Linked DNA regions of Homo sapiens: all the other regions are linked to region 2. Evidence: promoter capture Hi-C in 16 types of primary human blood cells and fetal thymus (Javierre and others, 2016). All regions are on one chromosome and are shown on one strand. The core of a region is centred on a gene start or on the middle of the fragment in contact, and the rest is flanking DNA. Distances in the headings are between cores, read along the strand shown.

What was found. Contacts are between HindIII fragments. The CHiCAGO score rates a contact against its expected background, and 5 or more counts as called.
Region 1: the fragment with the promoter of CES2 here is called in contact with the fragment with the promoter of WWP2 in region 2 in 4 of 17 cell types (non-activated CD4 T cells, naive CD8 T cells, total CD8 T cells and 1 more); the score reaches 8.4 in non-activated CD4 T cells.
Region 3: a contact is called between the fragment with the promoter of CBFB here and the fragment with the promoter of WWP2 in region 2, in 2 of 17 cell types (fetal thymus and non-activated CD4 T cells). The highest score is 6.3, in fetal thymus.

The regions. Positions count from the first base shown.
Region 1 is chr16:66,933,286-66,937,028 of GRCh38, reverse strand. CES2 (carboxylesterase 2) reads right to left here and starts at 1,513. Exons shown (of 12, transcript NM_001365405.1): 1 at 1,318-1,513. The coding sequence starts at 1,393. CIAO2B (cytosolic iron-sulfur assembly component 2B) reads left to right here and starts at 2,627. Exons shown (of 5, transcript NM_016062.4): 1 at 2,627-2,806; 2 at 2,963-3,042; 3 at 3,290-3,415. The coding sequence starts at 2,665. RefSeq lists enhancers at 1,291-1,903, 2,742-2,941, 2,972-3,021. The HindIII fragment of the contact is 4,886 bases long and covers 1-3,387 here.
Region 2 is chr16:69,761,061-69,764,567 of GRCh38, reverse strand. WWP2 (WW domain containing E3 ubiquitin protein ligase 2) reads right to left here and starts at 2,236. Exons shown (of 24, transcript NM_001270454.2): 1 at 2,177-2,236. RefSeq lists silencers at 1,760-1,809, 1,830-1,989, 2,010-2,149 and an enhancer at 1,853-2,431. The HindIII fragment of the contact is 2,162 bases long and covers 673-2,834 here.
Region 3 is chr16:67,027,716-67,030,994 of GRCh38, reverse strand. It overlaps CBFB (core-binding factor subunit beta), which reads right to left and starts at 1,846. Exons shown (of 6, transcript NM_022845.3): 1 at 1,510-1,846; 2 at 1,182-1,268. The coding sequence starts at 1,587. RefSeq lists silencers at 1,064-1,113, 1,364-1,603, 1,694-1,883 and an enhancer at 2,444-2,583. The HindIII fragment of the contact is 7,418 bases long and covers 652-3,279 here.

The DNA.
Region 1 (3,743 bases), core at 264-2,763, 2.8 Mb after region 2:
TTTTTTTTTTTTTTTGGTAGAGACAAGTCTTGTTGCCCAAGCTGGTCTCTAACTCCTAGCCTCAAGTGATCCTCCCATCTCTGCCTCTCAAAGTGCTGGGATAACAGGTGTGAGCCACTGTGCCTGGCCCAAAATATTTTAAAAGGTAGCCATCTGTGAGGCCAGGCAGATCTTCCTGCTGGGCTCCTGGTGAACTCTAGAATGTGGTCAAGGGCAGGCACGGGAGGAAGCCCTGCAGCAGTGCACCATGGGGCGGGGGGAGTATGGACTCCACCTGCGCAAATTAAATTGGGGAAGGGTTGGAAGAGACAGATCATACACTTAGGAGAGTTTCGGGTGAGAGGACCAAAGGCCGAAACACTCCCCCAGCTTCTGATAAGGGCCTGGAGAAGCCTGGCAGGCACACAGAGCCTTCACCTTTGCCCTGGAAGCCAAGTTGTGCCCTTGCCCAGGATGAGGTAAATGGCATGAGGGACACCACGAGCTCTTTGGTTCTTGTTTCTGGAGACAGATTTTTGCTTTTTCACCCAGGCTGGAGTGCAGTAGTGGGATGAAGGCTCACTGCAGCCTCAACCTCCCCTACTAAAGTGATCTCCCACCTCAGCCTCCCAAGTAGCTGGGACTACAGGTCACAGACCACCACAGCCCACTAATTTCTTTCAATTTTTTGTACACTCCGAGTCTCACTATGTTGTCCAGGCTGGCCTCCAACTCCTGGGCACAAGCGATACTCTCCCTTGGCCTTCTAAAGTGGTGGGATTAAAGGAGTGAGCCAATCGCACCCAGCCACTGTGGCCTCTTAGATCTGCTTTAGGATTTGGCGCCTGGGGGCTTCTGTTCCCCAAGGACCACTATCCTTGTCTGAGGCCCCTTTGGAGGGCTCAGGGCATCCCCCCTGGCCAAGGACGCCACACACTGAGAGCCAGATGCTGCCAGAAGCTATTACTGTTATTACCGGCCGGCAGCACCCGCTACAGCCACAATCATAAGAGGGAAATGGACTGAATCCCCACACCCCAATCCCTCACCCACTCCGACCCCAGGCTGCCTACCCGGCCTGGCATGTCCCGGCGCTCCTGGGGCCCCTGTACTCCGCTGGTTCCTTGCCGTGGTGTCCCCCAGCCCGACCCTTTCTGTGCTTCTAGGAGCCCACCTTGGGCGGCGGGGAGGCGTTGCGTGGGGCTCACGAGTTCCACGCTGTCATCTCCACCAGCTCCTACCTCCCAGGCGCCTGCCCTCCCGCACTGTCAGGTTCTGCCTCCGCAGCATTTGGCAGATCTGAGCCCGGTCCCTGTCGCCCCTCCGAGGGAGCCTCACCCTGGCCCCGGACAAGAAGCAGCAGAAGCCCACAGGCCACCGCGCTCAGCCGCGCACGAAGTCTGTGCAGCCGCATGGTCGGCTCGCTGGTCTCGGTTCGCTGCCGGCGGACACGCTGCTGTTCACCCAGAGGCTGCCCCGGGTCTGTCCAGCAGTGGATCAGTGCCTTGCCCAGCCTTGGAGTTTGGACTGGGCAGGGAGTCAGCGGGGTGCGCTGGCTTGGGCCGGGAAAGGTGGGTGTGGTAGGAGAGCGGGACTGAGCAGTCATAGGTGGGTGGGGATCTAGTGGTAGGCAGGCCCGGGCACGGCCACTTTCCTTTGCCCGGGCTCCTTTGGCATCCTCGGAAGGGGCTGTGCCATTCCTGCAGCCCTTCCGCGATCCAGGGAATCCTCTCTTCAAACCTGTCCTTGTCCACAGGCCCGATGAGCGCGCTGGGGGATCGATAGGAGGGGGCAATAAACTAGAATTGGAGACCCCAGGAGGGCTTCTCTGAGGATGTGCACGTTCAGGATCCCCCAGATGGAGAAATGGGAAGGAACTTGATCGGGGTGAAGGAACCGCTTGAGCAAAGGCAGGAAGGAGTGTCGGCGCCCTTCATTCTGGAAGTTCCTCCTTGCTTTCAGGACTCAGTTTCCTGGGTTCCCCTTCACGGCCCCTCATCTCCTTACAGTCCAGGGTCTGAGGGTCTCCGCGGTCCCCTCCCTACTCAGTCACGCCATTCTTTTGAAACGTACACGTGACCGCGGCACTTCTTAAGGAGCGCCCCCCTTTTCCTCGGTGGCTTTCAGTTTCCTCACCTCCCGCGGAGACCACGGCCATGGTCATTTATCCACTTGACAAACATTTCACGAGCCCCTGCCGGTCCAAGCTGTGGGGACGCCGTACTCCCGGGCCTATGGTGCAGCAGGGGAGGCAGGCGCGTCACCGGGAGGTCCCGAGACACTAGGATCCCTGCCAGGCCAGAGGCGACCAACCGTCCTGGATACGGGAGCTCCCGGCCAGCCTGACTTCCAGGAGGAAGCGGTGTGGGGATTACCTCCGACCGCCTTTAGTGCCCCCTGAGACCTGGTTCTGGCCTCTACGTTTCAGCCCGCTACTGGCTCGCACGACCCAGCGCCGCCGTGGTCCCTTCTCAGCGCCTTCTGCTCCAGCGACCATCATGTTCCCGGGTCCGAGCAGCCAGGGCCGCGGTCACCGCTTCTCTCGCACCTCAGGCCGAGAACCCACAACGCGGCGTGTCCCTCGCGCGACTCCGTCGCCACGCCACGCCCCCTTCCCGTTCTCCGGAAGTGCGCGGGTTGGAGCGGAAGCGCACGCCTGCTAGGATCAGCGGTGGTGGTTCCGCGATGGTAGGCGGCGGCGGGGTCGGCGGCGGCCTCCTGGAGAATGCCAACCCCCTCATCTACCAGCGCTCTGGGGAGCGGCCTGTGACGGCAGGCGAGGAGGACGAGCAGGTTCCCGACAGCATCGACGCACGCGAGATCTTCGATATCCGCCGCTGCTGGGCGCGGGCGGGTTCCGGGGGCTTGCGGTGGGGGGAGCAGTGATATCGAGCAGCTGGTGGAGCCGCATCCCAGCAGGGCGTTCCTGGCAGAGGGTTCTAAGTGGGCAAGGGCGCAGAGTCCCTTTTCCTTCACTTCCCACATCTGATTCGCTCCATCAATGACCCGGAGCATCCACTGACGCTAGAGGAGTTGAACGTAGTAGAGCAGGTGCGGGTTCAGGTGAGTCACTTCCGAGGGGAGCGAGTTGTTCCAGAGAGTCAGAAAGGTTTCTGTGCAGCAGGAGCTGGCGTGCTCTATGCTCACGAACACCGAAGGGTATCTTTGGGGAGGGAGATTGTTGTGCCTATTTTATGGGTGTTGAAACTGAGGCCCATAGAAGTTGGATGATTTGCCCAAAACAACAAACTAAGAAGAGGGACCTTGGGCTGAGGGTGGTTGACTCTTGACATCTCTCCTCCACAACCAGGTTAGCGACCCCGAGAGTACAGTGGCTGTGGCTTTCACACCAACCATTCCGCACTGCAGCATGGCCACCCTTATTGGTCTGTCCATCAAGGTCAAGCTTCTGCGCTCCCTTCCTCAGCGTTTCAAGGTCAGTTGGAGCTGAGCCCCGGGAGTGAGACCAGGCATTGAGGGTCTACTGCTGAGGATGGGGACTGGGAGAGCATGAACATGGATAGGACATCAGAGTGGGGCCTGGAAGGATCCCCATTAGCAGAGAGGAAACTGGGAGGAAGCTTTCCAAGTCGATGTGACAAGAATAAAGATCTGAGCTGGAAAGTGGAGAAAAGTATTGAAGAGTGTGGCAGGAAGGGCAGTAGGGAGCGGCAGATGGGTTTGGACCAGGGGTGGGGCACAGGCAGGCCTTTAAATCAACAGTAGTGGGCCAGTTCTTTGGATAGAATTGGAATAGCTAGGGC
Region 2 (3,507 bases), core at 987-3,486:
CTTTTTCTGTGTGATCTTTTTCCTTAAAATGTTACACTTTTTATTCCTGAAAAATTATGTAAAAATAAAACTTTCAGTTGGGCATGGTGACTTACACCTGTAATTGCAACACTTTGAGAGGCCGAGGTGGGAGGATCGCTTGAGCCCCGGAGTTTGAAAACAGCCCGGGCAACATAGCAAAACCCCTGTCTCTACAAAAATTAGCCAGGCGAGGTGGCACCCACCTGTAGTCCCAGCTGTTTGGGAGGCAGACATGGGAGGATCACCCGAGCCCAGGCAGGTCAAGGTTACAGTGAGCCGTGATTGTGCCACTGCACTCCAGCCTGGGCAACAGAGTAAGATCCTGTCTCAAAATAAAATAAAAATAAAATTTTCTATTGTGTCAATAAATGAAAAAGAATGGATCTAAGGATTAAGGGTCTGGGCTTGAGTCCCTACTCATTTACTAGCTCTGAAATCTAAAGTAAGGACTTCATTAAGCCTCAGTCTCTTCATGTGATATAGGGACAATACTGACCATCCCAATTTCAAAGGGAAGGTTAAGTGAGATGTTGGTATACGCTCTTTGTAAATGGGAAAGTAATCATGAAGTGAAAGAGACTGAGAAGCCAATCCAAGCCTTTCTCTCGAGCCTGTTTTCATATGGACCAATGACACAGATAATCACAAGCTTCTCTGACAAGAAAAAGAGTAGAAGACTTGGGTTCAAATCCTTTGTCACCACTTACGCCGGTGTGACTTTTAGAAATGCATTTATTCACCAAATATTTATCAAGTGCTCACAACATGCCAGGCACTAGGCTAGCAGCCAAATAAAATATGAAACCTGCCCTTGAAGGATTTGCAATCTAGCAGGAAGAGGCCAGCAAACAAGAAAGAGCAATAAATTGTTTTAAAAAATCAAGTCGTCTCTCGTAAGTCTGTTTGTTCCCTGTGAAATGAGAATACATCTTCCCAACCTCACTCATAGGCGCTGCTGCAAAAACTAATTTTTAAATGTTTGTCAAATAACTCCAAAAACTTGAACTCATAATACATTAGGAAAGTACTTTTTCCTACTTGTAACCCAAAACGATGCTGGCTGCTGTGAATGTCCAGTTTGAACATTCGTTCCAGTTACACTGCACTCATGAAACTCCTTTTGCTTCTGCAAATTTTAGTAAACATGAGAAACAGGAAGATGAACAGGCTTTAACACAAGTATTCAATCTCAAAATCATGATCCAGGTCACAGTTCTAAGGAACATAACACAGACCTCTCAGGCACCCTACCTAGTTACAGTTCGTCAAGATAAGCAGTCACAAGATAAGCTAAGGGAAACTGAATAATTTAAACGGAAGAAAGAGAAAAGTCATAAAGCAGTCTAGGTAGACACTTCTCTGTCCAAGATTTCAGCAGTCACTATGTTGCTGAGGTAACGCTGGGCTAGGTCAACAGTGTAAGCTAAAAGCCATTTTACAGGCAAAGTGCCCACACTTATTTTTTTAATTTATTTTCTTTTTTTGTTTTTTAAAGCCTCGATGATGGCCCGTTCAGGGAAAATCTCAAAGAAAAATGAGCTGAAGGGCTAGGCTCCCAAGAAGTGGAAACCCTACCCACGCAGGACTAAGTGGGCGCGAGGGAAGCAAGACGATCAAGATTCTGTGATCCCTCCTGAAGTTTAAAAACTGAATGGGACCGTCATCAAAGTCTCGGGTAACAATCATTTCCAAACAGGAAGGAAGGGAGAGACTCTCAGAGGGGGTCCAGGCAGCATCTTTTTCCCTCTGGCTCCACGCCATAAACCCATTTTCAGGCACCCCCTTCCAGCTCAGTTCCAAGTCGCCCCTTCCCCTGGTCCCGATCCCTCCACAAAGATCGCTCCTCTCCATGCCTGGGAACCTAAGCTCCTCTCCCCTTCCGGGAGGACTCGCTCCAGCTGCACCCTTGGCGGCCGGGGCACCCATTTCGGAGCAACCCCCGCGCGGGCCGCGGCGCGCCCACCCCACTCGGGCGGGAGCCGGGACACCCCTCCTCGGAGGCCGGAACCGCCGCGCCAGGCCCCTCCCACAGGAAGCCGCCGCCCCCCGACGCCCGGGCCGCGCCGCCCCCGGCCCACCCCGCGCCGCCCGCCGCCCCCGGCCCGCCCCGTGCAGGCAGCCAGCCCACCGCGCCCCCCGCGCCAGCGCTCGCTACCTGCCGTGGCCACAGAAGCGGCGCCGAACTCCTCTCCTACTTCCGCCTTCCACCGCCCGCACTCGGGCCGGGTCACGTGACCGCGCGCGGTCACCTGACCCGGAAGAGGCTGGCCAGGCTCGCAGGTGCGGGCCACCTAGGCCTGGCCTGGGCACCTCTGGCCTCGAGGAGGCCTTTTTATCGTCTCTGTAGTTGAAAGTGGAAGGGTTTCTGCTCACCGGATGGTCCCAGGCAATCAAATAAATTGAGGGCTCACTGAATGCCACCTACTCTGCCCATCAACCTTATAGAGGCAGGGACAGGTACTAGCCCCATTTTACAGGTGAAACGAGACCTTCAGACTGTTAAGTCAGCAAATACTTAATTGAGCTCCTTTAGTAGGGTTGCCAGATAAAGTACAGGACACCCACTTAAATTTGAATTTCAGATAAACAACAGTGTAATATGTATGTCCCAAATACAGAATGGGACATATTTATACTAAAAAAAGTATTTTTTGATTATCTGAAGATCAAATTGAATTGAGTATCTGTATTTCTATTTCCTGGCAACCTTATGCCTATTATGTGCCAGGCACTGTTCTAAGATCCAGGACCACAAACATCTCAGCCTTTGTGGGGCATCTGTCCTTGTGACATGAAGCAAAAGTACAAAAGCTTAAAAACTCCTGCTTGGCTCCATAAAAAGCCCCTCCACACTAATCCAATCGCATTCCCTTAATCTACAACTACAGGGCACAGAGAACTTAATGAATTATAATCCAGGTAGGTAGGTAGGTAGGTAGGTGGATAGATAGATGATATTTTTTTTTTTTTTTTTGAGATGGAGCCTCGCTCTGTCGCCCAGGCTGGAGTGCAGTGGTGCAGTCTCAGCTGACTGCAACCTCCGTCTCGCCGGTTCATGCAATTCTCCTGCCTCAGCCTCCCGAGTAGCTGGGATTACAGGCGTGCACCACCACGCCTGGCTAATTTTTGCATTTTTAGTAGAGACAGGGTTCCTCCATGTTGACCAGTCTGGTCTCGAACACCTGACTTCAAATGATCCGCCCACCTTGGCCTCCCAAAGTGCTGGGATTACAGGCATGAACCACCGCACCTGGCAGAGAAATATTTTTTTTAAGAGATGGGTCTGGATAGGTTGCTTTGGCTGGGCTCGAACTCCCAGCTTCAAGCAGTCCTCTTGCTTCAGCCTCCCAAGTAGCTGAGACTACAGGCGAATGCCACTGTGCCTGCCCAATAACTTTATTTATTTATTTATTTATTTATTTATTTGCTTGCTTGAGACAGAGTTTCACTCTTGTAGCCCAGGCAGGAGTGCAGTGGCTCAATCTT
Region 3 (3,279 bases), core at 597-3,096, 2.7 Mb after region 2:
CACCTAGCTTCAAGCCTCTAACAATGCAGTGAGTCCAAGTCACCGAGCAGAGAGTAACAGCATTCCATTAGACAGTGCTTCAACTTTTTAAAAAATAATCAGGCCAGACGCAGTGGCTCACGCCTGTAATCCCAGCACTCTGGGAGGTCGAGGAGGGCGGATCACTTGAGGTCAGGAGGCCAGCTTGGCCAACAAGGTGAAACCCCGTCTCTACTAAAAATGCAAAAATTAGCCGGGCGTGGTGGCAGGCACCTGTAATCCTAGCTACTCAGGAGGCTGAGGCAGGAAAATCGCTTGAACCCAGGAGGCGAAGGTTGCAGTGACCCGAGATCGAGCCACTGTACTCCAGCCTGGGCAACAGAGCAAGACTCTACCTCAAAAAAATAGTAATAATCAACCTCTTTTCTTGGTTTCTTCCTACCACTCCCTCCTCATCAGCACCTCCAACAAGGCAAACCAAAAAGATGAGAGGAACTAGGACCCTTGGATTTTTTTTTTCAACCCAAGGTCTGGTGAAGACGCACTAAATCTGCCTCCTAAAACAAGGACCTCGAGATCAACCGTGGGTTTTGCCCATCTGTGCAGTTTTTAGGAACAGCAGCCCTACTCAGGACATGGGGATAATGGTTTCTTTCTGATTCTCCTGAAGCTTAACATTCTAAGAAAATGACATTTTTAGGGCCTTTTCCCCCCCCTCCCCTCTCTATTAGAATAAATAACTGGAGGAAAGATTTCTACTCGGCGATCTGGTAGTGAGACCGCTTGACACAGAGAATTACCGACAGATCTACCTTCTAAGAAACAAACTATCGCCGACCTTGAATGAAGCTCCACTTCTTTTTCCGAATGGGGGTTTGCTTGCTACAAATACCCTGAACCCTTCTTCGGTGTCGCCGCCTAAACAATGCCCTTCGCTTGTTTAGTCTGGCTCGGGTTCGAGCTCCACTCGCGGTGCTCCGTTGGCCGACACGCGCCACCGCGGCGAGCCCCAGGAAAAGCGTCTCCCCGCGAGTACCGGCCCGCGGCATCTGGTTTCGCATTTTGAATCCCGAGTAGGAAGTGAGACGGCGCCCACTCAGTTCCGGGAGCCGCAGCAGCCGCGCCGCCGTCCGGAACCGGCCTGGGCCGCCGCGGCCCCGCGCAACAAGTGACCCGCGCGCGCCCCGGGCCAGCCGACTTACGATTTCCGAGCGGCCGTCGCGGCAGGCGTTCTGGAAGCGTGCCTGGCGTTCCTCGTGGGGCCGGTCCCTGAAGCCCGTGTACTTAATCTGCAAGGCAAGACGGCCCGAAATCAGGAGCCAAATCCGCGGCGCCGCCCGCGCGCCCGCCCTCCCAGCGCAGCGCCGATAAGGGCAAGCAGAGGCTGCGGGCGATGGCCGCCCCGGCGAGATTGCCCCTCCGCGGGCGCACCGACCGGGACTCCCGGGGACCGTGCCGCCCAAACTTTTCTCCGCCCGGGCCCACTCGGGGCGCGCTGCGGCCTCCTAGCCGCCCGCCCGCCTGCCTCACCTCACACTCGCGGCTCAGCTTCCTAAAAAACTCCTCGTTCTCGAACTTGCTTCTCTGGTCGGGCACGACGCGCGGCATCTTCCCGCCCTGAGGCCGCGCCGGCCGGCCGCGCTCGGGGCTTGCGCGGGCACCCGCTGGCTGGCTCCGCGCTGACCGACTGACCGCCCACCCGCGGCGCCCGGACGCCCGCTTCCCTTTGTTTCAGGCGCCCGCCCGCGTGGGCTCCCGTTCCGGGGAGTCTGAGGCGCCGCCGCCCGCTCGAGCCCAACCCACGCCGCCGCCGCCGCCGCCGCCGCCTCAGCCGTTGCCTGCCGCCCGCGCAGCCCCAGCGCTCACCGCCCCCGGCCGCCGCCGCCGCCGCCGCCGCCACTTCCTCTCACCGCCCACCCCGCCCCCGCCGGCCCCACCCCTCCTCCTCGCGCGCCCGCCCGCCTCCAACTCCGGCAAACAAGACGCACCATTCACAACTCCGCGGCCCACGCCGCGCATGCGCCACCCGCCCGCTGGCGGAGCGGCCTGGCTGTGGCGCCCCGGGGCTCCTTCCGCATCAGGGCCCTTTTCCCCCTGCTCGCCCGCGGCCACTCGGCGTGGAGCTGTCGTTGGGGGATCCGCCTGGCCTTTAGCAGACGGGAGTAGCCAGCGCAGGCCTTTTCTACCGCCCTTCCTCGGTCATCTGGAACTTCTGGGTTCCCCAGGTGCGCGGAGTAACCCCAGATTGTCACTTGAACGCGAGGAAACCTAAGTCCTTGGGGACTTTTCGTCCCTAAACCGACCGGCAGGGGTGTAGGCTCTGCACGTTGAAGACTGAGGTGGAAACGGACCAAAGAATCCAACCGAGTCATGGTGGAAAGGTCGTGGCTTTTGGAGTCAGATGGGTCTTAGATGGGATCCCACTCAGCTACACTACCTGCTGGCTGGGGCCTTAGATAAGAATTGGACCACTAAACCTCAGTTTCCTTATTTCCAAAATGCAGACACTCCTAGGTTTGCAGTGTTAGCGTGAGAACCTTTATGTGGGTCTAGCACACAGTGGGAGCCCAATAAATTTAAGTTTCTAAAGAAGAACAAGCTGAGTTAAGAATGTAACCGATTGCCAGTCCATATACTTACTCAATGTGCAATCAGCTGCAAAAAATAAGATCCATAAATTCTAGGGAAGTTGTTTAGCCCAAACTGGAGAAAGTCTGACATGGGATTTATGGCAGAGTTTGATTCAAAGTTAGTCCTGTGGCCGGGCACTGTAGCTCATACCCGTAATCCCAGCCCTCTTTTTTTTTTTTTTTTTTTTTTTTTTTTAAACAGAGCCTCGCTCTGTCGCCCAGGCTGGAGTGCAATGGCGCGATCTCGGCTCACTGCAACCTCCGCCTCCTGGGTTCAAGTGATTCTTCTGCCTCTGTCTCCCGAGTATTTGGAATTACAGGCACCCACCACCACGCCCAGCTAATTTTTTTGTATTTTTAGTAGAGACGGGGTTTCGCCATGTTGGTCAGGCTGGTCTCGAACTCCTGACCTCAGGTGATCTGCCCGCCTCGGCCTCCCAAAGTACTGGGATTACAGGCATGAGCCACTGCGCCTGGCCTAATCCCAGCACTTTGGGAGGCCGAGGCAGGCTGATCACCTGAGATCAGGAGCTCGAGGCCGGTCTGGTCAACATGGCAAAACCCCATCTCTACTAAAGTACAAAAATTAGCGGGGTGTGGTGGCACACGCCTGTAGTCTCAGCTACTCGGGAGGCTGAGGCAGGAGAATCGCTTGAACCTGGGAGGCGGA